7 separate regions of the Homo sapiens genome follow, and regions 1, 2, 3, 4, 5 and 6 are each linked to region 7. The links are contacts of gene promoters, found by promoter capture Hi-C in blood cells and fetal thymus (Javierre and others, 2016). All regions are on one chromosome and are shown on one strand. The core of a region is centred on a gene start or on the middle of the fragment in contact, and the rest is flanking DNA. Distances in the headings are between cores, read along the strand shown.

Region 1 (3,329 bases), core at 47-2,546, 420 kb after region 7:
CATCCCACACTCTGAAACTGGGTGCATAACTCCTCGCTCTGCCTCCCATTGCCATCCCAACCCTGGCAACCACCGTTCTACTTTCTGTCTCTATGAATTTGGCTGCTTTAGGTAGCTCATGTAAGTGGAATCATCCAATATTTGTCCTTTTGTGTCTGGCCTATTTCACTTATTATAATATGTTCAAGGTTTGTCCATGTTGTAACATATGTCAAAACACAAAATTACAACGAATCCAGTTTAAGGATCTTAACTGACTTTATTTGTGATTCTAAAATTGGGCAATACTTCATTCCATAAAACAGAATACATGTTTTGGGCCGGGCGCAGTGGCTCACACCTGTAATCCCAGCACTTTGGGAGGCTGAGGCGGGTGGATCACTTCAGGTCAGGAGTTTGAGACCAGCCTGGCCAACATGATGAAAACCTGTCTCTACAAAAAATACAAAAATTAGCTGGGCCTGGTGGCATGGGCCTGTAATCCCAGCTACTTGGGAGGTGAGACATGAGAATCGCTTGAACCTGGGAGGTGGAGGTTGCAGTGAGTTGAGATAGAGCCATTGCACTCCAGCCTGGGTGACAGAGCGAGACTCTGTCTCAAAAAAAAAAAAAAAAAAAAAAAAAAATACATGTTCCGATGAGCTGAGCAGAGAGGTTGGCCTTACAGACAGAAAAGAACTAGCGGGAGTGGAAGCAAAGAGCCAAGTGTATTAGTCACTTAAAGCTACTTTCCTTGTAAGGCACAGACAAGGAGATCGAAAAAATAGAAAAATCACTGATCAGTGAACCTCAGGTTATGCCAGGCTACCTTTTGTGTGCAAGGATTAAGGCAGAGGGAACTTCATTATCCTGTCTATTGAAGATTGAAGCTGGCCTGTTTGGGAAATTGGCTGTTATCTCTCTCTCCTGATTTCTCAGAACTATAGATAATAATTTAGGTTTAGTGATGTGAAACTTTAGCATGGGTGACTCCATTTTGACTTTAACTCTGGTCTTACTGGGACCTAGTGCAGAAGCTTAGCCCAAAAAAATGGCCTATCAATTTTATTTAACACGTGTTAGAATTTCATTCCTTTCTTCCTTTTCAAGGCTGAATAATATTTCATCATATGTGTACAACACAGTTTGTTTATCCAGTCCTCCGTAGATGGACATTTGGGTTGTTTTCACCAAAAGGTGAATCAAAAGGCTTCACCAAAAGGCTGCTGTGAATAGTGCTGCTGTGACTATCAATGTACAAATAGCGGTTCGAGTCCCTGCTTTCAAGTCTTGTGGTGGCTAGTCCATTTTCAGAAAGAAAACAATTAGCAGGCTGAGAACCCAGCCCGGGTGCAGAAGACGCTACGGCAGCACGTTCTTGTTTTTTCCATCACATCCGTTGAGTCTCCTCTGAGGCCAGCAAGCCCCTCACCTTTTGTCCTCCCTTGGTGCTCCAGCCCTTGGCTCTTGCTGCTCATCTCCATGGGGTCAAGGCCCTGGGAACCTGTGATCCTAGATCCGTCATTGAGAACAGTGGGGAGCTATAAGGTTCATGGTTATCTCTTCCATATTCTTCAGAGTTGTGCATCATTCAAGCAAAGCTTTTTTAATACTAGTTGTATCTTTCAGCATGATTTCAATGTGTTTTTGTCCCGAAGAACCCATTTCCCACCAGAGGCAGAGCATGGAAGGACTCAGTGTACGCATGTCACTAGGAATTTTTTGGTTGGGAATGGGCACATGGCCTCAGCTGGCTCACTCAGGCTGACAGGAAGGAGTTTTATTTCATGGCTGGGCAGGATGTTCCCTTTTTTCTCTGGAAGTGTTTCACTTGATATTGATCAAAAGAATGCTAGCTGAACCGTGAACAAAGCTGGCACCTGGAGACGAAGGCGGGGCTGAGAGAATAGCAGGACGTGTTCCTAGAGCCTTAATCATACAATGCCTGAAGCCCACCCTATCCAGTCTACCTGTGAGGAAGCTAATAAACTGCCTGTAATTTAAATCTGGTTTGCTAGGGTTTCTGATCCTCAGGGTCAAAAATATTCTAACAGACTCAGTCTGCATGGTGTTAGGGTTTTGATTTTCACCCCAAGAGGAGTGGAAAGTCATTAAGAGATTTCAGCAGGGCGAGTCCAGGGAGGGGTGACAAGATCAGGTCTGCATTTCAAAGCAGGACTCTGGCCGCAGGGTGGAAATGGGTAGTGGCTGGGATGGTTGTACTTGGGGGCTACTGGGCTAGCTCTGGGGAGAAGTTGTAGAGTAGGACAGAGGGGAACAGATCTGGAAGTTTTTAAGGAAGTTAATAAGGTTGATGAGACTTGATGACGGTTTGTGGGGATGGGGAGTGGGGTGACCTCTAGGCTTGTGGCTGGCTCAACTGGATGAACAGGGGTGCTACCCACCATGACAGGAATATGGTTGAGAAGAAGAGATGGAACACCAAAAGTGTCAGGTTCCTGGAGGGACTGGCCTTAGGTGGGAGTGGCGACAGCTAACATTAGTTTAGTGCTAGCCATGAACCAACTGTGGCCCAAAGTGCTGTACGTGTGTAAATTTATTAAGACAATGACCTTACGCCCATTTTACTGATGAGAAAACTGAGGCACCGAGAGGTTAAGTAATTTGCCCAAGGCCACACAACTGATTAGGAAATGGGAGTTGAATCCAAGCAGTTTGGTCCCGTGAGGTTCCCAAGGAATATATGTGCTGAGAAGGCTCCCATGAGCAAATGGCATGTAATGTCTGTAACACTATTATCTGGGGCTTGGGCCCCCAACTCCAGTGCAGAGAAAACTCTGGGAAGCTAGATTTTGATTCCCAGAACAGCCTCCCTTTTCTAAGTCAGTTAGGCCTAAATGGCTTCTGACGAAGCAGCCTGGGAGGCGTGCTCGATTTCACAGCCGCCACCCCAACTTGAGTCTCCAATCTCGCCACCGTGATCTGGGCAGCCTGGCCTAATGGATCCCCAGCAGGGCCAGGGTGAGAGGCTGTGTGTTTCCTGTGTGCCGATGCTGCTGCTTCAGCCTGCTGCCAGGAGGGAGGAAGAAAGGATGTCCATACAGAAAGGGAGACAGGGATGGGCTGGCTCAGAGGGAAGCGTCTGCCTATGCCAGGGTCACTTGGAAAGAAGAGAGAGAAGAGGGAGCCACCTGCATGGGCTTCACCTCCTTGGAAAACACCACCGCTGGAAAGTGTGGCCTGGTCTCTTGCTGAAACCATCACAGGGTTAACAAAAATTACATGCCAGGTTCTGACAGAAATATAATTAAGCATTAATCAGGCTGCACTTGGCACACTTCCTTGTAGCTGCTTGCTAAATAAAAGCCACACATGACCATTTGCATTCC
Region 2 (3,243 bases), core at 420-2,919, 390 kb before region 7:
AGGTACACAGTATATCTGTGTGTCTACTGTGGCCCTTTGGAGGAATAACCTAAGATTATTTCACACACACTCCCTACCCCCACAAAAACCAATTTTCACCCCCACTGAGAATGCTTGCCCCAGGGCTATGGCTGAGTACCCAAGGAAGGAACAAATTCGGAAGAGCCCTCTCTTCAAGACTGACTTCACTGGAGTCACTTCACTCGGATGTAGCTATCACCTCCTAGATGGTAAAGAAGTTCACCGAGGTTCTGCAAGTCAGCGTCAGGATGCAAGAAACCACCTTCCGGGTTGCCTGTGAGACTCCCTGGGCAGCTGAGCACTTTTGGGATTCCTGCACCCACTGGCTGCCAAGTACCCCAAGAGAAGGAAAATCACATGGGAACAAAGAAGAGAGAAGCACTTTCCTCCTGCAGTGGCCTCCCAGCCCTGTAGACAAAGCTTAACATTCTGCCAGCTGCAAAGGAGAAATGTTTACAGGGCCCAGCTCCAGCATCACAGAACAGAGCAGTGCAGAGATTTGGAGCTGAGAGGAAAGAAGTTGATGCATCAAAGAAATTCTTTTAAATGAAGTGTTCTAATTAATTTCTGTCTAACCAAAGTTTTATGATGCCAAGGTTTTACCACACTATGGAGGATGCACCTCAAAACACCAAGGAATTTGTAAAAATGCAGGGCATGGCTGGGCGCTGTGGCTTACGCCTGTAATCCCAGCACTTTGGGAGGCTGAGGCAGGCAGATCACCTGAGGTTGGGAGTTCGAGACCAGCCTGACCAACACGGAGAAACCCCATCTCTACCAAAAACACAAAATTAGCTGGGCATGGTGGCATATGCCTGCAATCCCAGCTACTAAGGAGGCTGAGGCAGGAGAATCGCTTGAACCTGGGAGGCCGAGGCGGGCGGATCACGAGGTCCGGAGATCGAGACCATCCTGGCTAACACGGTGAAACCCTGTCTCTACTAAAAATACAAAAAAATTAGCTGGGCGTGGTGACAGATGCCTTTAGTCCCAGCTACTCGGGAGGCTGAGGCAGGAGAATGGCATGAACCTGGGAGGTGCAGCTTGCACTGAGCTGAGATTGCGCCATTGCACTCCAGCCTGGGCAACAGAGCGAGACTCCATCTCAAAAAAAAAAAAAAAAAAATGCAGAGCATATGCTTAGTAAAGCAAATTGTTATTATATGTTGTCATTTATGTGTGAAGTTTATGTCTTTGACCCACTGTCAGTGGGACTTACACTTGAAGTTATTTTCTTGAGAATGAAAATGAATGTCTGATTTATCTATATTTTCCCTCCAAACAATTCAGCCAGAGAATATGCTGACTAGCTGATATCAGTCTTATTTCTTTGACAGTAACATTTCTCAGCATAATTGAATGAACATTTTTATTTACCAGTAACTCTGTTTGTGAGGTTGACAAGTAGATCAATTCATTGGAACCTGATTATTCTTGGGTGAAAAGATGAAATTGAATTTCTGTATCACAGAACTAAGGTCTAAACCTCAGAGGAGAGGTATAAGTCACTGTAACAAGGAAGCCTGGCTTGGCCAGTGAGACTTCTCCAACTACCAGATACCACACGACCTAAGGGTAATGTCTGCTGCCAAGCGATACAGCAAAGATAGCTCATAGACCTTGTTTAAAATTTTGCCTTAGACCTTTTTTGAAATTTGCAACAGTGCTAACTTCTTGCATAAGCCCACAGTGGCATGTCCTATAGATGCCTCGATTTATGCTTCTAGTTTGGATTTTGGTGTGAAGTGGCTTGCTGAGATGGGGTATGTGAATCAAGCTCTCTCGGATTCAGTTTCATTGCCTGTAAAGTGAGAAAGTTGGAAAACATTATGTTGAATAAGAATTCTCTGATGTAATAAAAAAGCAACTTTAGGCTGGGCACAGCAGTTCACGCCTGTAATTGTAGCACTTTGGGAGGCCAAGGCGGGTGGATCACTTGAGCCTAGGAGTTCAAGACTAGCCTGGGTAACATGGTGAAACCTCGTCTCTACAAAAAAATGTAAAACTTAGCCAGTGTGGTGGTGCATGCCTGTAGTCCCATCTACTCAGGAGGCTGAGGTGGGAGGATCACTTGAGCCCAGAGGTCGAGGCTGTGAGCCAAGTGAGCTGAGATTGTGCCACTGTACTCCAGCCTGGGTGACAGAGCAAAACCCTGTCTCAATTAAAAAAAAAAAAAAAGCAACTTTATTTTTGTCCCTATTTTCCCTTTGCATATATAAAGTCTATCCATCTATCTATCTAGACATCTATAGATATGTTCTAGTATGAAAATTCTGGCAAGCCCTTAAATTTTCTGGCTTATAATGATTGCTATCACTATAGACTATCACTTTCAATTACAAACACAGTCTTGATACGGAGATTAGAATGTCCAGTGTAAGATATTAATCAGGCTGGGTGCGGTGGCTGACACCTGTAATCCCAGCACTTTGAGAGGCCAAGGTGGGTGGATCACAAGGTCAGGAGTTCGAGACCAGCCTGACCAACATGGTGAAACCCTGTCTCTACTAAAAATACAAAAATTAGCCTGGCGTGGTGGCACACACCTGTAATCCCAGCTACTCAGGAGGCTGAGGCAGGAGAATCGCTTGAACCCGGGAGGTGGAGGTTGCAGTGAGCCGAGATCACACCACTGCACTCCAGCCTAGGCAACAGAGCAAGACTCTCATCTCAAAAAAAAAAAAAAAAAAAAAAAAAGAAATATATATATATACACACACACACACACATACACACACACACACACACACGTATATATATACACATATATATATAAATACACACACTCCAAATCTGGTAAGATATTAATCAATACTCCAAATCTGATTTTAAGGATACATCCTCTCCACTCTTCCAGCCCAAGACTGCTTCACTCTGAAAGCTTGCAGTGGGAAAGGGAGAGATGTGGATGGCTCTTCCTCAGCGCTTCTTGTGGAGTGAATGGGGGTGTCATTATGCTCCTCCAGATTCCTCTCCACCCTTTTCTACCTCCCCCTCTGCCCCACTAATGTGAATATGCTCCATCTCCCTTTGGCTTCAAGTTAGTTTTGGCCAATGAGGAGCTCTGGCAGAAAAGCGAGAAGTGCAAGATCAAAGTTTTTATTTCCTTGGCTTTTTCCTAGAGAGGTTGACTCTAGCTGTTTGTGTCCCTTGATCACTCTTTTTTTTTTTTTTTTTTTTTTTTTTGAGATGGAATCTCACTCTGTCACCCCAGCTGGAGTG
Region 3 (3,391 bases), core at 840-3,339, 510 kb before region 7:
TTTATACCACAGATGTCTGTCACAGTGCTATTTATTGTATTAAATTATAAACAACCTAAATATTCAACACAGAGGAAAAGTTAAGTAGATTTAACATAATGTTAATGGGACTTTACACAATCATTAAAAATGATGTTTCTGAAAGCTTTTATAATAATATGAGAAACTGCTTATGATTGTAACTGAAATATATGTATAAAATCATATACACATAATGACAACATAAGAAAATCAGTCTACACGTGGAAATATTCCTATAGCAATAATCTTTTGGCTGGTAAGGCTATGTTTTACTTTCATTTTTCTAAATTTTCAGTTTTTACATAAATGAGCTATATTACTATTACACTATATATATTATTACTAGGATAACATAAAAATAAACTTCACAAAGGTTCCAGACCAAAATATGTCAAATAAAAATGCATAATTACCTGTTTAATGATATTCTTTGCTGTAATAACCATTTTTTCACCATAGATTTCTAAAAAATTAAGCTTTCTTTGTTTTAAAAGTCCAAATACAAGAGATATTAGTCTTTCCTGTTAAAATAAAAGTATGTAACTTGACATTTTAAATATGAAGTAATTTTACTTAGAGGTAGAAATATTCAGCATCAAGAGTTCTGTTTGATCCTCAGATCTCTATCCTGCACAAAGTATTTTCTAGCAGCCTGAAAACCCCTCCCACAGCAATCTTATCATGAGATTTTTGGAGTCAGTGCTGTAAAACAGATAAATCCTACCCCACCACAGTGAACCAATGAAGCTGGTTTTCGGGCAAAACAATACAAGGGTATTTTTTGTTCTAGTTTCAACAAGTAAAAAATATCCTTCTCACACCCTGATGACCAATAAATACTCCATGGGCCCTGTGGGTTTTTTTTGGTTTTTGCTTCTTTGTTTTGAGACAGCGTTCCACTCTGTTGCCAAGGCTGGAGTGTAGTGAGGTGATTACAGCTCACTGCAGCCTTGATCTCCCAGGCTCAAGTGATCCTCCCACCTCAGCCTCCCGAGTAGCTGGGACTAGAGGCATGCACCACCACACCTGGCTAATTTTTAAATTTGTTTTGTAGACTCACTGTGTTGCCCAGGCTGGTCTCAAATTCCTGGGCTCAAACGATCCTCTAGCTTCAGCCTCCTAAAGTGCTTGGATTATAGGCCTGACCCACTGCACCTCACCCATGCTTTGTAATGCATAGTCTAGAAGACTGAAATAATGACCTAGACTCTCACAGTGGGAAGTCAACTGCTAACATCTACAAAAGTTTCTTTACTTAGGCAGTTATCAGGGTTTCTGGGATTTTTTACTAGTTGTTGTCAGTGATTAACACTGAGAAGTTACCAGCTAAGTGAAGCCTGGATATTATGTATTTGTATATACATATATAAAAAACATGTTCATAATAGGTACTCAGTAAATTTGAATGACGGGTAATTACCATATGATAATGATCACTTTTTCGGTTTTTTTTTTTTTTTTTTTTTGAGACAGGGTCTTGCTATGTCACAATCATGGCTCACTAACAGCCTCAAACTCCTGGACTCAAGTGATCCTCTCGCCTTAGCCACCCAAGTAGCTGGGACTACAGGTGTGCATGCACCACTACACCCAGCTAATTTTTTTATTTTTCGTAGAGATGGAGTCTCCCTGTGTTGCCAAGGCTGGTCTCAAACTCCTGGGCTCAAGCAATCTTCCCACCTCAGCCTCTCAAACTGCTGGGATTACAGGCATGGAGCCAATGCGCCCAACTATGATCACTTTTTATAAAAGACAAGCTCCAGCACTCGCACACATAAACACAGAATATAAATTAATTCATCCTATATCTGTATTTTTAACTTGGTCTGTAAGCTCATTTTAACTCTAATTTCTAATTAAGCTATACAATTATTTTATTCTCTAATTCCATAGGATAGTGAACAATCATGGTGCTTGCTCAAGTCACATAGCTAGTGAAGGACTTCATAGGTCTGATAGCCCTTGAAATTTAAGATAATTTTGATTCCTATAATCTGAGAAAAATGTGTTCTAAGCCAAGACTGTTAAGCAATGGCATCAACTTCATTCCACAGTTAAAACACATACCTCTTCTAAAACTTGACAGTCATCTTCCAGTGGTCTATTTAAGTCACTGTGAGAATAAGTAGAAAATTCTGCAATCATCATTTTATCTATCAGTTTTTCTAATTCACAAAGCTGTGATCCCAAATGCCTAAAAAGGAAGAGAAAAATGTTATATTTATATTCACTAAAAACTACAAATTCGCTCCACAATCAAGGGAACTAGTAGGTAAAACTTTTTCAGTTGACAGTACCTGTGCAATAATGCAATGTTTTCAAAAAATGAAGTCCTTTAACTTACCAAAATAACTGCAAACATTTCATCTTCTAAATTCCATTTTTCTCTTTACAGTTGACCCTTGAACAACATGGGGGTTAGAGGCACCAAACACCAGTGCAATCAGAAATCTGTGTATAACTTTTGACTCCCCAAAAATTTAACTAATAGCTTATGTTGACCAGAAGCCTTACCAATAACATAAAGTCAGTGAACACATTCTTTTCTATATTATGTGTACCATATACTATATTCTTACAATAAAGCTAGAGAAAATATGGTACTAAGAAAATCCTATGGAAAAGAAAATACATTGACTATTGATTAACTGGAATCAGATCATCATAAAAGTTATCTTCACATTGAGTAGGCTGAGGAGGAGGAGGGAGAGGAGAGGTTGGTCTTGCTATCTTAAGGGTGGCAGAGGAGGTGGAAGTGGAGGCAGAAGAGGCAGGCACACTCAGTATAACTTTACCGAAATGCACTGTAATTTCTGACTTTACTTTTGCATTTCTCTAAAAATGTTTGTTTCTATATGGTACCAATCCTTCTTTCACCATTTGCTTTAGTTTCAGTGCCCATAGAAGAGTCCATGTCATAAAAGAAGTCAAAGGAAGTCTTGAATAATGGGAACTCTGCTGCCAGATTGTCTAATGTCATCTTGTTTTCTGGCACTGCTGCTTCTATCTCTTTTTCCTCATTGTCTGGCATTGGTTTGAGAACACTCATCTCCGTCAAGTCATCTTCTGTTAATTCCTCTGTTGTGGTACCTATTAGCTGTTGAATTTCTCCAAGATTCTTATCTTGAAATCCTTCATTCCTCACCCTTGTCACATCCACAATCTCTTTCATGATTTCCTTGATTGTCTCACAGCATCTGCACACAGTTTTCTCTAACAGGAATTTATTGTTTCGGGCTTTATGGTCTTCACAACTTTTTCTATAACAATGACGGCATCTTCAATGGTGTAATCCTTCCAGACTTTCGTGATGTTCTATCGGGGTTCTCTTCCATAGCACTGATAATCCTTTCCATAGAGTAGTGTGTGT
Region 4 (3,359 bases), core at 601-3,100, 440 kb before region 7:
TAATTATATTTTTTTAAAATTTGGATTTAAAAAAATAAGACATTAATAGTATAAGAAGATATCTAAATAATACATTTGCTACCCTTCCTTAGGTTAAAGCATTTTTAGAGGATTTTGTAACATGGGTTTCATCAATGTAGCTACATATAGTCACCCACTTTTCCCCCAAAGTTGGGGGAATGTCCAGTTCTTTCTCAGCTCTGCTAGCAAAATGTCAAATACATACATATATACAAGAATCTAAACAATTCTAACTTCCAAAGTCCCATTTCTTGCTTTACATGGCCACGCTGTGGTTCTTGAGCCACACATCCTAGAGATTCAAGCTTCTAATCTCCATGTTTCCTCATCTGGTTGCTGCCAACTAATAGCGAGGTAAGCAGGAAGTAAGCTGATGACCTTTAAGATCTTTTCCCTGATATTCTAATATTCAATGACAAAAATGCCCACTTTTACTTATTGATTCCGAGCTGACCAAACTACCTCTTGAGGTTACTGAAGCCATTCATGCCTTCTCCAACTTTATGCTGAATACAACCAAAAAGTGTATCAGTTATTTACAACATCACTTTTAATATTGGTGATCAGTTGCTTATTCCCTAGCTCAAATAAAAAATTTTAACATGTACACTGATTTTAAAGGAAAAGCTTTTCAAGAAGCTATGAGCCAAGAAGCATTATATGAAAGGCCCACATTAGGCCAATATTGAGACAGAAAGTAGACTAGTGGTTGCCTAAAGCTGGGGGTGGGGTGAAGAGAATGGGGAGTAACTGTTAATGGATAAAGGTTTTTTGAGGGAATGATGAAAATGTTCTAAAATTAGATTATGGTGATGGTTGCACAATTATTTAATCTAAAAACCACTGAATTGTATATTTTTTTTTTTTTTTTGAGATGGAGTCTCGTTCTGTCACCCAGCCTGTAGTGCAGTGGTGCTATCTTGGCTCACTGCAACCTCCACCTCCCAGGTTCAAGCGATTCGCCAGCCTCAGCCTCCCCAGTAGCTGGGATGACAGGCGCTCACCCCCATGCCCGGCTAATTTATATATTTTTAGTACAGACGGGGTTTCACCATGTTGGCTAGGCTGGTCTCGAACTCTGGACCTCAGGTGATCTACCTGACTAGGCTTCCCAAAGTGGTGGGATTACAGGTGTGAGCCACTGAACCCGGCCAAGTGGTACACCTTAAATGGGTGTATTTTATGGTATGTTAATTTTATCTCAATAAAGCAGTTTTTAAAAAGCAAAGAGCAGGAAAGAGGAATTGTAATTAACTTTTGTTGATTAAAAAAAAAAAAAAAAAAAAAAAGAGTGTGATGGGCCGGGGCCGGGGCGGTGGCTCACACCTCTAATCCCAGCACTCTGGGAGGCCGAGGCCGGTGGATCACAAGGTCAGGAGTTCAAGACCAGCCTGGCTAATATGGTGAAACCCCCGTCTCTACTAAAAATACAAAAATCAGCCAGGCGTGGGGGCGCCTGTAGTCCCAGCTACTCAGGAGACTGAGGCAGAAGAATCACTTGAAGCCGGTAGGCGGAGGTTGCGGTGAGCCAAGATAGCGCCACTGCACTCCAGCCTGGGCAACAGAGCAAGACCCCGTCTCAAAAAAAAAAAAAGAAAAGAAACAAAAAAAAAGAGTGTGATGAAGAAATTCTGCAAAATTTGCCGTTTCATGGGCTATATAGGAATTGACTTTAATTCTGACACAAAAAATTATCTTATCCAGAAATCAATTTTAACTTTCCAGAAAATATAAGCATATGCAAAAGTAATCACCTTTTCCTAGTAAACTTTTAGTATTAAATTCTAATTTCAAAAACACTTCAGAAAGCCAAATGCTGTAGTAACAATACTTCTACAAGAACAAAATATACGAATATCAACAACAAAACAGTCTTTACGATTTGGTTGTGATGCATTCTTTATTTTAAAAACCCATTAAAACATTTTTCATTTATTTAAAAAAGTGATCCTCAGACTGCCTCTTAGATTGGTAGTGTAATAATTCTTAAGTTATCAGAACATAATTTAAAAATAGCCAAATTACAATAAAATCGCAAACATCTACTGTCGTCCCAAACAACTATCAATTACAGCTACTGGTAACCTATCATAAGCAATGATGAGCACTACGAACCATCAACATCCATTTCTAGGAAATCCGATTCTGACTACACTACAAATACAGTCAAACAAATCCCATCATTCCCTCTGTTCCATCATTTAACTGCTTAGAAATCATTTAGGCTCTGAAGGTGCTTTTTCCAATTAGAACTCCCCTTCGGATTTATAAAAGTGAATGTACATCAAAATCTGCAGTTTAGGTTATCGCAGTAATATTTCTCGGTATACTACAAGTAATTTATCACGGTATTACTTAAAGGCGTTTAGTATTAAGACCGCCCTTGATTTGACAAATCAGAAATACAGCCAATTAAAAACAAAAACAGTCCAAACAATTTAATTCTTCGAAAGAGCCTCAATAAAGACCAAAAAATAAAGCTGGTTAGAAGAAAAAAATTTTTTTTTGAAACGCCTGTCAGTCAAAATGCTAAAAATACCATCTTGAACTCAACACATGAACAGACCAAACGGCTAATTATAATTGGCAAGCCAAAGTTCCCAAGTCAACGACGGGAGAGCAGAAACGGCAGAGAGGGCCTGCCCTTTCTGTCTATGCAGAGATGGAAGGAGGCAGAACTGAAGAAAATTATTGCACAAATTATTTCAAGCTACATTGCCAAAATGCAAAATACTGAGTAACTCTTTGGGTTAGCCTTCCCCGGAGAGAAAAACAAACAAATGTTTTAACGATTCCAGTAGAATCCAATAGGACTAAGGGCCTGGCTGGAAAAAGAAAAGGAAAGTTTGGGGGCAGCGTCTAAGGGGGTGATGGAAGTTCCAGAGCTGGGATCCCGGAAAGATAAGAGAGGGGCAAGAGCGGCGTTTGCGGTCGCTGACAGGAGGCAGGGAACACAGCTGCCAGCCCCGATCCCGGAGGGAGAGTGAAAAGGAAAAAAAAAAAAAAAAAAGGAAGTGGCGGAGAGGAGCATGGAAGCTTCAGTGCCGGTCAGCTGTGACCGAAACTCGGTCCGTTTGGGGCTGGGGAGGAGAGCCGAGGGGGTGGGGTCTCGGTCCCTCTCTCCGCTGTAGGTCGGGGTGAGAGTGGGCTGAGACGCGCGGGGGGCCGCGGGGCACACCTACCTGCGGGTCCCGGGGCAGCCGCCCTGAGCGAGGCCTAGTGCATCGCCGCCGCCTCCAGCCCTCCACGTCGCACCGAGGCTGCTGCTCCACGGCCGCCGCCGCCCGGCGCCCGGCCGGGCCCGAGCCCGGGTTCCCGCCCCCGCCCCGCGCCCGCTG
Region 5 (3,178 bases), core at 628-3,127, 460 kb before region 7:
ACACCCTAGTCTCCTGCAGCACCCCCAGGCTTATTAGGATTAGGAAATTCCTGCCTAGTAACCTCATTAGTAATTCTAGTTTTGCCCTGGCCTGGTGACCTTGCCCTGCCCATTTGCCTTGTGATATTTTGTTGCCCTTGAAGCATGTGATCTCTGTGACCCACACCCTATTCATACACTCCCTCCCCTTTGAAAATTGCTAATAAAAACTTGCTGGTTTTATGGCTCGGGGGCATCACGGAACCTGCTGACATGTGATGTCTCACCCAGACACTCAGCTTTAAAATTTCTCTCTTTTGTACTATTTCCCTTTATTTCTCAGACTGGCCGACACTTAGGGAAAATAGAAGAGAACCTATGTTGAAATACAGGGGGCTGGTTCCCCCGTTAGACATAGGCCTGCAGTTTCGTTTTCTGATGCGTCTTTGTTTGGTTTTGGTATCAGGGTAATACTGCCCTCGTAGAATGAGTTTTAAAGTATTCCCTCCTCCTATTTTTCAGACTAGTTTGAGTAGGATTGGTACTAGACCCTCATTAAATGTTTGGTAGAATTCAGCAGTGAAGCCATTCAGGTTCTGGACTTTTTACTGGGAGACTTTTCATCACAACTTTTATCTTATTACTTGTTATTGGTCTGTTCACACCCTGGGTTTCTTCATGGTTCAGTCCTGGAAGATTGTACGTATATAGGAATTTATCCATTTCTTCTAGATTTTGCAATTTATTGGCATACAGTTGCTCACAGTAGCCGCTAATAATCCTCTGAATTTTGTGGTATCGGTTTTAGCATCTCCTTTTTTCATCTCTGATCTTTTGGGGTCTTCTTTTTTCTTAGTCTGGCAAAAGATGTGTCAGTTTTTGTTTTGTTTTGTTTTGTTTTATCTTTTCAAAAACCCAACGTTTTATTGATCTTTTGTCCTGTTTCTTCATTTCAATTTCATTTATCTCTGCTCTGAGCTTTGTTATTTCTTTTTTTCCACTAATTTTGTTTGGCTTGCTCTTGCTTTTCCCTTTCTTTAAAATCCATCATTAGGTTTTTATTTAAAGTTTTTCTTCTTTTTGATGTAGGCACTTATAGCTATAAACTTTCCTCTTTGTATCATTTTTGCTGTATCCTCATAGATTTTGGTATGTCATGTTTCCATTATTAATAAATTTTTCAATTTCTTAATTTCTTCATTGACTCACTGGTCATTCAGGAACATATTATGTAATTTCCATGTGTTTGTATGGTTTCCAGAATTCCTAATATTGATTTCTGGTTTTATTCCATTGTGGTCAGAGAAGATGCTTGATATTATTTGAATTGTCTTCTTTATTTCCAACCTGTTTCTTTGGCTCTAATATTTGCTTTATATATGAGTGCTCCAATAGTTAGGTGCATATATATTTACAATTGTTATATCCTATGCTGAATTGACCCCTTTATCATTATATGGTGACCTTCATTGTCTCTTCTTATAGTTTGTGTCTTGAAATCTATTTTGTCTGATAACTACTAGAGAATATCTTTTTCCATCCCTTTTTTTGTCTGTGTGTGTCTTTATAGGTGAAGTGTGTTTCTTGTGGGCAACAGATCACTGGGTCCTGTTTTTCTATCCATGCAGCCTCTTTATGTCTTGTGATTGGAGAGTTAGTCAACTTACATTCAATATTATTACTGATAAGTAACGACTTACTCCTGCCATTTGTTTTTTGTTTTCTGGTTGTTTCGTAGTCTTCTCTTCCTTCCTGTCTTCCTCTTAGTAAAGGTGATTTTTTTCTGGTGTTATGACTTAATGTCTTGGTTTCTTAATTTTTTGTGTATCTGTTCCATGTTTTTTGATTTGAGGTTACCATGAGGCTTGCAAATACTATCTTATAACCCACTGTTTTATGCAGATAACAATTAACACTGCTTGTATAAATAGGCAAAAAGAAAACTAATAAAACTCTGCACTTTAACTATGTCCCCCCACTTTATAGCTTTTTGTTGTTTCTATTTATATTTTACTATCCTTATGTCTTGAAAAAATTATAGTTATAATTTTTTATTGGCCCCTTTTAATTTCTCTAATTAAGGCTAGTTTACACACCAGTTATCATGTTATAATATTCTATGATTTTCTGTGTACTTATATTGCCAGTTAGTTTTACATCTTCAGATGGTATCTTTTTGCTTATTAATCTTTTTCTTTTTTATTGAAGTACATACCCTTTAGCTTTTTTTAAGACAGAGTCTCACTCTGTCACCCAGGCTGGAGTGCGGTGGCACCATCTTGGCTCACTGCAACCTCCACCTCCCAGGTTCAAGTGATTCTCCTGCCTCAGCCTCCTGAGTAGCTGGGATTACAGGCATGGACTATCTATCATGCCTGGCTAATTTTTGTTTTTCAGTAGAGACAAGGTTTCATCATGTTAGCCAGGCTAGTCTTCAACTCCTGACCTCAGCTGATCCACCCACCTCAGCCTCCCAAAGTGCCAGGATTACCGGTGTGAGCCACTGCACCTGGCCAGCTCTTTAGCATTTCTTGTAGGACAGGTCTGGAGCTGATGAAATCCCTTGGCTTTTGTTTGTCTGGGAAAGTCTTTATTTCTCTTTCATGTTTGAAGGATATTTTCATTGGATATAGTATTCTAAGGTAAAAGGTTTTTTCCTTCGGCATTTGAAACATGTCATGCCACTCTCTTGGCCTGTAAGGTTTCTACTGAAAAGTCTACTGCCAGCCATATTGGAGCTCCATTGTATGTTGTTTCTTTTCTCTTGCTCCTTTTAGTATCCTTGCTTTATCCTTGTCTTTGGGAATTTTATTATTAAATGTCTCGAGTTAGTCCTCTCTGGGTGAAATTTGCTTAGTGTCCTATAACCTTCTTGTACTTGGATATTAATATCTTTCTCTAGGTTTGAGAAGTTCTCTGTTATTATTCCTTCGAATAAACTTTTTACCCCTATCTCTTTCTCTACCTCCTCTTTACAGACAATAACTCTTAGATTTGCCCCTTCAAGGCTACTTTCTAAATCCCGTAGGTGTGCTTATTTTTATTCTTTTTTCTTTTGTCTTCTCTGATTGTGTATTTTCAAAAAGCCTGTCTTCAAGCTCACTAACTCTTTCTTCTGCTTGATCAACTGCCGTTTTTTGTTTTGAGATGGAGTCTCGCCCTGTCACCCAGACTAGAGTGCAATGGCACGATCTCGTCT
Region 6 (3,443 bases), core at 402-2,901, 410 kb before region 7:
TTTCAGATAGAGTTGGAATTGCTGGATCAAAAGACCTAACATTTTTAAAAAGTTTTTGCTATCTACTGTAAAATTGTCTTCCAAAAGTTGTAATCACTCACACTCCCACCAGCAGTATATGACAGTACCCATTTCTCTGCATCTTTGCTAATCTAGGTTATTTTTTAAAATCTTTGGCCAGGCGCAGTGGCTCATGCCTGTAATCCCAGCACTTTGGGAGGCTGAGATGGGCGGATCACAAGGTCAGAAGTTTGAGACCACCCTGGCCAATATGGTGAAACCTCGTCTCTACTAAAAGTACAAAATTAGCCATGTGTTGTGGCGGGCGCCTGTAGTCCCACCTACTTGGGAGGCTGAGGCAGGAGAATCACTTGAACTGAGGAAGAAGAGGTTGCGGTGAGCTGAGATTGAGCCACTGTACTCCAGCCTGGGTGACAGAGCAAGACTCCGTCCCAAAAAAAAAAAAAAAAACTTTGCCAGTTGGCCAGGCAAAAAAAAGTCTTTTACCACTATTTGAAGTGTGTTTTCTTTCTTTTTTTTTTTAAATTGATCATTCTTGGGTGTTTCTCGGAGAGGGGGATTTGGCAGGGAAGGTCAGCAGATAAACAAGTGAACAAAGGTCTCTGGTTTTCCTAGGCAGAGGACCCTGCGGCCTTCCGCAGTGTTTGTGTCCCTGGGTCCTTGAGATTAGGGAGTGGTGATGACTCTTAACGAGCATGCTGCCTTCAAGCATCTGTTTAACAAAGCACATCTTGCACCGCCCTTAATCCATTTAACCCTGAGTGGACACAGCACATGTTTCAGAGAGCACAGGGTTGGGGGTAAGGTCACAGATCAACAGGATCCCAAGGCACAAGAATTTTTCTTGGTACAGAACAAAATGAAAAGTCTCCCATGTCTACTTCTTTCTACACAGACACGGCAACCATCCGATTTCTCAATCTTTTCCCCACCTTTTCCCCCTTTCTATTCCACAAAACCGCCATTGTCATCATGGCCCCTTCTCAATGAGCTGTTGGGTACACCTCCCAGACGGGGTGGTGGCCGGGCAGAGACGCTCCTCACTTCCTAGATGGGATGGTGGCCGGGAAGAGGCGCTCCTCACTTCCTAGATGGGAGGGCGGCCAGGCAGAGACGCTCCTCACTTTCCAGACTGGGCAGCCAGGCAGAGGGGCTCCTCACGTCCCAGATGATGGGCGGCCAGGCAGAGACGCTCCTCACTTCCCAGACGGGGTGGCGGCCGGGCAGAGGCTGCAATCTCGGCACTTTGGGAGGCCAAGGCAGGCGGCGGGGAGGTGGAGGTTGTAGCGAGCTGAGATCACACCACTGCACTCCAGCCTGGGCACCATTGAGCACTGAGTGAAACAGACTCCGTCTGCAATCCCGGCACCTCGGGAGGCTGAGGCTGGCGGATCACTCGCGGTTAGGAGCTGGAGACCAGCCCGGCCAACACAGCGAAACCCCGTCTCCACCAAAAAAATACGAAAACCAGTCAGGCGTGGCGGCGCGCACCTGCAATCGCAGGCACTCAGCAGGCTGAGGCAGGAGAATCAGGCAGGGAGGTTGCAGTGAGCCGAGATGGCAGCAGTACAGTCCAGCTTCGGCTCGGCATCAGAGGGAGACTGTGGAAAGAGAGGGAGAGGGAGACCGTGGAGAGGGAGAGGGAGGGGGAAGGGGAGGGGGAGAGGGAGAGGGAGAGGGAGAGCTGAAGTGTGTTTTCTTTATGAGTAGGTCCTACTTGTAGCTAAGGCTAAGTGGCATTCTGTTTCCTTCCTTTTGAGTTCCTAGATTAATACTTGATGAAATTACAAATCTTCTATATAAACATATGTATTAACATCTAGATTCTGGACCTAGAGAGAATTTAAAAAATTGTCTTCATTGTGCAGTAACAGAAAAACTGAATTATTAAGTGCTTGCCTGAACAAGTGCGTATGACTTCCTTATTTCTATGAATGCCCCTAGTAATGTTTGACCCTTTCCTCCATATTCAGTCAACAAATTAATTAAATTAGACTCTACTTAGGCTTCATATCTGTTGTTTCCTTTCCATTCTTGCTCTTACCATTCAAATGTTGCTGTTGCTTTCAGGAAAATTTCGATAGATACTTCCAAATTACTCTTCCAAGGGATTTTATATGAACTTATATTTCCACCAATAGTGTAGAAGAATGTGTCTTCAAACTGTCAACAACAGTTGGGAGTGACAAATTTTTTATCATTATCAATCTAATAGGTGAAAAATGGATGGCACTTCATTGTGATTTTGATTTGTATTGCTTATGTATGTAGGCAGAATATATTTCTGCCTAAATCTCATTAACTAGCATTAAGGGTCATATGGACAGGCTCAGTGCCAGGGGGCTAGCAATGCCAACATTTCACTTTGTAGCCTTTACAATGGAAGGCAGGGAGGAAGGGAGCTGGAATGGATGCTAAAGCCATCAACATTTTTTTCATTTATGACTTTTGGGTTTTATGTCCTTTTCTACACTAAGACTAAAATTGTACCTGTGGGTTTTTTTTGTAGCTTTTTATTATAAAAACATTCTTCCAAAACACAAAAGTAGAGAGAGTAGAATAGTGAACTTTCATGTAACTATCACAGCTTGAAGAATTATTAGCAGTCTATATTTTTGTTTCATCTATCCCATGCCTAATTATTTTTCTGAAGTTTTCTAAGAAAATCTCAAGTATCATACCATTTCATTCATTAATATTTTAATGTTTCTCTAACAGGTAAGGCCATTTTATTGATGTGTAATATATACATTAAAATATATGGCTCAGCCAGATGCATGTAATCCTAGCACTTTGGGAGGCCTAGGTGGGAGGATCCCTTGAGTTCCAGGAGTTTGAGGCTACAATGAGCTACGATTGCACCACTGCACTCCAGCCTGGGTAACAGAGTAAGACCCTGTCTAAAAATATATCTATATTGCTCAAATAATTTTCACAAAATGAAAACACTCATATAACCACATCCCATATTAAGAAATAGAATATTACCACACTCTAGAAGCCCCCTTTTCATCTTCTTGCAGTCACTACTCAAAGTTAAGCACTATCTTGACTTCTATCAGTTTGAATCAGTTTTTCCTATTTTTGAACTTTATGTACATAGAATTGCATTACAAACTTTACATATATAAATGGTATCACATTGTTTGGTGTTTGGCTCACTTTACTCAACATTTTGTTTGTCAGACTTATCCATGTTGTCATGTGTAGCAGTGGTTTGTTCATACATACCGTATTTACTATAATCTAGTATGTAGATTATCTATATGCTATGAAGACTCTCTAGAGTATTTCATTGTATTAATATACCATAGATTTTAACTCTACTGTTAATGGGTATTTGGGTTGTTTTCTTTTTTGGCCATTGAAAATAGTGCTGCAGCCAGGTGCAGTGGCTCACGCCTGTAATCCCAACACTTTGG
Region 7 (3,491 bases), core at 757-3,256:
CCTCCCAAGTAGCTGGGACTACAGGTGCACACCACCACACCCAGCTAATTTTTTTTTTTATTTTTGTAGAGACAGAGTCTCTCTGTGTTGCCCAGGCCTGTCTCAAACTCTTGGCCTCAAGTGATCCTCTTGCCTCAGCCTCCTATATTGCTGGGATTATAGGCATGAGCCACCGCACCTGGCCTTATTACTTTTTCCTAACACTTTTGTCACCCGACATATTTTGTTTATTGATTTCCTTTGCCCACTAGAATGTAAGCTCAGCAAAAAAGTAGCCTGCTGGATCCCCAGTGCCTGGTATACAGCAGGCACTCAGTATTTTGGTATAATAAGTGCTTACTATGTCCCCAATACTGTTTTAAGGAAGGTATTTACTTAATCTTCCCAATAACCTGAGATAGGCATTATTATCATCATTGTCATCTCTGAGTCACAGATGAAGAAACTAAGGCACAGAGAAGTTTAGTAATTTTTCCAAGATCACACAGCTAGTGAATAGTAGAGCCAGGATTTGAACGCGAGACACCGGCTCTTTAACCACCATCACATGTAGTGTCACCCTTATTGTGTCACTCAGTTAATGATAAAGAACTACTGCACTTTAATGCTTCTTCTCTATACCAGACTCTCAGAAATTGATACATACTAAAGTATGCTTTCAAATGTCAATCATTTCCTATAAGTGCCTAACATTTTAAAGTAATAAAGTGTGATTTTGAGCTAAGACTGGTAAACAAAGTGTGCTGCAGCCACAAGCGTACTGCGCTTTAGCCTCTATCTAGTTCAAGAACCACTTCCAGAGGATATGAGTGAGGCTTACAGGCGTGTGCAGGTAATTCTCCCTGCTCAACTGAGATTACCATCATTAGCTCTGGTCCATAAAGGGAAAACTAAGACACAAAAGCCACATTGATGTTCTAGGCCACACAGCCAATTGCAGTGACTAGAAGAAAGAAGCCTCCCCGGGCGGCGAAGGTTGCAGTGAGCTGAGATCGCGCCACTGCACTCCAGCCTGGGCCACAGAGGGAGACTCCGTCTCAATTTAAAAAAAAAAAAAAAAAAAAAAAAAGGAGCCTCTGAGGGGCCCTCTGGGACTGCAGTAGGTCACACATGCTCCCTGCTTATTAGCATAGAACGCCCCGGTGATTCATGCAATGGAATGTTTCAGCCAAGGATGTCACCTAATAGAGGATATGTTGATACAGCTTTATCTGAGAAGTTACATAATCGTCCTAGTGTGGAAATGCCATAAAGGAATTTCTGGCTTGAATAAAAGAGGTGTGTATCCCCTGGGAAGTACTCCACAAAGGGTATGAGGAGATTTTCAGTGAGAAGCTGACTACCCCAGACTGGGCAAGTGACTTGTTAAAAACAGGGCTCAATGGAGGCTCTCTGAGGACAGTGACTGCGCCCACTTTGATTTGGTAAGGCTTTGACTCCTGCTCGAGAGAGTCCAGGGACCCCTAGACCTGCCTGTCCTTCCACAGGGAAGAGCGACCTTTCTGTATCTAGCCTCCTGGGATAGAAAGGTCCCTACCTTGAGTCCTCTCTGCTTCGTTCTTTCAGGTCACACATTTATTTCTGCAAGCCTTCAGACCTTCCATTCTCTTTCTGCCCTAGAGAGCAGAATGAATCCTTCCCCCGATTTTGTTGGAATTCTCTGAAAGAAATCCTGCCAAGTCTCCCACTCTGGAATACCACCCCCAGCACCCAATCTTCCCTCGACCTCGCCTCCCATCGCCCCACCAGCGCCCAGGACGTGGCAGGAGGAAGGAGGCTGGAGGGAGGGGCGCGGGTGGCACGAGCACCTGTCACCTGACCGGCTCGGGCCCTCACTTCTCCAGCCCCGGCCCTGCCCACCCTCTGGCCGGTGAGAGCCGACAGGGCCCCCGCCCTCCCGGACCCGGACAGGCCCGTCCCTCCCGCCCCGGCCTCCGCCACCGTCCAATGGCCGAGGGGCAGGGCCCGCTGAGCAAGCCGCGGCAGCCCCGCCGGGTCCCCGCCCTGTTCCCGGTTCCCGAGCCGGGCCCCGGAGGCCTTTAAATGCTGCCCAGGGCCGACGCGGCACGGCCCTCGCCACTTTTCTTGGTCGGGCAGCGGCAGCGGCAGCGGCAGCAAGCAGCCCCGTCGGCCCGGGTCCGGGGCCGTTCTGGGCCGCGGCAAGCACCTTCGCCCTCCCAGCTCGCGCTGCCTCCCTCCCCTCCCCTCCTCCCAGGCTCTGCCTGCCAGGTCGGCGCCGGGCCCCGGGCGCGCGCGCGCGCGCCCCCTCGTGTGTGCGCGCGCCCGCCGCCAGCTCGGACCCGCGCCCCCGCCCCCGCCCCGCGCAGGACAGCCCCGGGATCCCCGCCCGCGCGCCGCGTCCCACGTACCCCGCCGCGCCGGGCAAGAAGATGGCGGGATCAGTGGCCGACAGCGATGCCGTGGTGGTGAGTGTGGCAGGGCGCGCGCGAGGCGCCCCTCCCCGCCGTCCCGCACTCCGCCGCCGCCTGCTCCAGCAGTGCTGGGGTGCTGAGCAGCCGCAGGCCCGGCCGGCGCCCGGCGCGTGGGAAGGCGCCCGGTACCTGTTAGCAGCCGCTGGCTGCGCGCGGCCGGTGTTAGGGGCTGGAGAGGCTCCCGGGCTGCGGGGCTCTGGGCTGGGGAGGGAGTTTGGGGAGGATGGCGGGTAGGGACGCCCGACAGCCCCCTCTGTGCCGTGCAACCGCCAGCCAGGTGTGCGCGTGGGTGAGTGTGTCCGGGGCGCGCGCCCCGCCACCGCCCCCGACGTACCGGGGATTCCCCCTTGGAAATGGGTCGGCGCCCGGGGCTCCCGAGAGAAGTTGAGCACGGCCGCTGCACTTCAGTCACGTCCCGAAGGACAGGCCTGGCCCACCGCGCTTCCAGAAGCGTTTACGGTTGGAGAGGGGCCTGCCCTCCTCCGGCGTGGGGCTCTGGCTCTTCGGTGGACCTCGACCTTGATTTTGATCTGGATCTGAAGGGTCTGCGGATCTTCAGAGGCTTAACTACCGGGTGGAAAGGATGGGTTTTGTTCGGGGGTGATGAGATTATCTAAGAGACGGTGAAGAGGCATCATCTGCAGACACTGTGTGCATGTGGAAGGCTGCTGGATTCCACCACATCTGTGTGGGTTCTTCCTCCAGCCCCCCAAAAAAGAGCCCATGGAAAGCCAATCTGTGTACTTCTATTTTTAGAAACTAGATGATGGCCATTTAAACAACTCTTTGAGCTCTCCAGTTCAAGCGGACGTGTACTTCCCACGACTGGTAAATGATTTTGCTCTGTGTCTCTGCCTGTACCTTCCTCCTTTCTCATTGCTTTTTAAAATTTTATTCATTTGTTTATTGCATTTTCCAGTGGGTCAGGCCTTCAGGGTCTGAGGTCTTGGCTTTTCCCTAACAGGCTGTAAAATTCATTTTTCTTCTCCCACCCTTTTCAGATAGTTCCATTTTGTGGGCACATTAAAGGTGGCATGAGACCAGGCAAGAAGGTGTTAG

Evidence for each region. The method cuts DNA at HindIII sites, captures the fragments that hold promoters and counts their contacts. A CHiCAGO score of 5 or more calls a contact.
Region 1: a fragment that was not itself captured here is called in contact with the fragment with the promoter of LGALSL in region 7 in 8 of 17 cell types (M0 macrophages, total CD8 T cells, M2 macrophages and 5 more); the score reaches 7.3 in M0 macrophages.
Region 2: a fragment that was not itself captured here is called in contact with the fragment with the promoter of LGALSL in region 7 in 2 of 17 cell types (M0 macrophages and neutrophils); the score reaches 5.2 in M0 macrophages.
Region 3: a fragment that was not itself captured here is called in contact with the fragment with the promoter of LGALSL in region 7 in 1 of 17 cell types (activated CD4 T cells); the score reaches 5.4 in activated CD4 T cells.
Region 4: a fragment that was not itself captured here is called in contact with the fragment with the promoter of LGALSL in region 7 in 2 of 17 cell types (neutrophils and megakaryocytes); the score reaches 5.7 in neutrophils.
Region 5: a fragment that was not itself captured here is called in contact with the fragment with the promoter of LGALSL in region 7 in 1 of 17 cell types (neutrophils); the score reaches 6.8 in neutrophils.
Region 6: a fragment that was not itself captured here is called in contact with the fragment with the promoter of LGALSL in region 7 in 8 of 17 cell types (M2 macrophages, neutrophils, activated CD4 T cells and 5 more); the score reaches 9.1 in M2 macrophages.

The regions. Positions count from the first base shown.
Region 1 is chr2:64,877,375-64,880,703 of GRCh38, forward strand. No RefSeq gene overlaps it. Among named protein-coding and RNA genes, the nearest start is that of LINC01800, 15 kb to the left of the region's middle. The HindIII fragment of the contact is 564 bases long and covers 1,015-1,578 here.
Region 2 is chr2:64,058,142-64,061,384 of GRCh38, forward strand. It overlaps LOC124907774 (a long non-coding RNA gene), which reads right to left. Exons shown (of 2, transcript XR_007086337.1): 2 at 1,377-1,822. Among named protein-coding and RNA genes, the nearest start is that of VPS54, 40 kb to the left of the region's middle. The HindIII fragment of the contact is 2,461 bases long and covers 440-2,900 here.
Region 3 is chr2:63,946,949-63,950,339 of GRCh38, forward strand. It overlaps VPS54 (VPS54 subunit of GARP complex), which reads right to left. Exons shown (of 23, transcript NM_016516.3): 8 at 2,089-2,215; 9 at 435-542. Among named protein-coding and RNA genes, the nearest start is that of VPS54, 71 kb to the right of the region's middle. The HindIII fragment of the contact is 3,189 bases long and covers 496-3,391 here.
Region 4 is chr2:64,015,735-64,019,093 of GRCh38, forward strand. VPS54 (VPS54 subunit of GARP complex) reads right to left here. Exons shown (of 23, transcript NM_016516.3): 1 at 3,204-3,359. Among named protein-coding and RNA genes, the nearest start is that of VPS54, 2.0 kb to the right of the region's middle. RefSeq lists an enhancer at 2,878-2,947 and a silencer at 3,108-3,359. The HindIII fragment of the contact is 2,409 bases long and covers 647-3,055 here.
Region 5 is chr2:63,996,756-63,999,933 of GRCh38, forward strand. The region is part of intron 1 of VPS54 (VPS54 subunit of GARP complex); the gene reads right to left. Among named protein-coding and RNA genes, the nearest start is that of VPS54, 21 kb to the right of the region's middle. The HindIII fragment of the contact is 9,532 bases long and covers 1-3,178 here.
Region 6 is chr2:64,040,825-64,044,267 of GRCh38, forward strand. No RefSeq gene overlaps it. Among named protein-coding and RNA genes, the nearest start is that of VPS54, 23 kb to the left of the region's middle. The HindIII fragment of the contact is 6,176 bases long and covers 1-3,443 here.
Region 7 is chr2:64,452,156-64,455,646 of GRCh38, forward strand. LGALSL (galectin like) reads left to right here and starts at 2,007. Exons shown (of 5, transcript NM_014181.3): 1 at 2,007-2,426; 2 at 3,189-3,260; 3 at 3,434-3,491. The coding sequence starts at 2,391. LGALSL-DT (LGALSL divergent transcript) reads right to left here and starts at 2,723. Exons shown (of 3, transcript XR_002959392.2): 1 at 2,370-2,723. RefSeq lists silencers at 1,764-2,183, 2,194-2,263, 2,354-2,653. The HindIII fragment of the contact is 9,168 bases long and covers 1-3,491 here.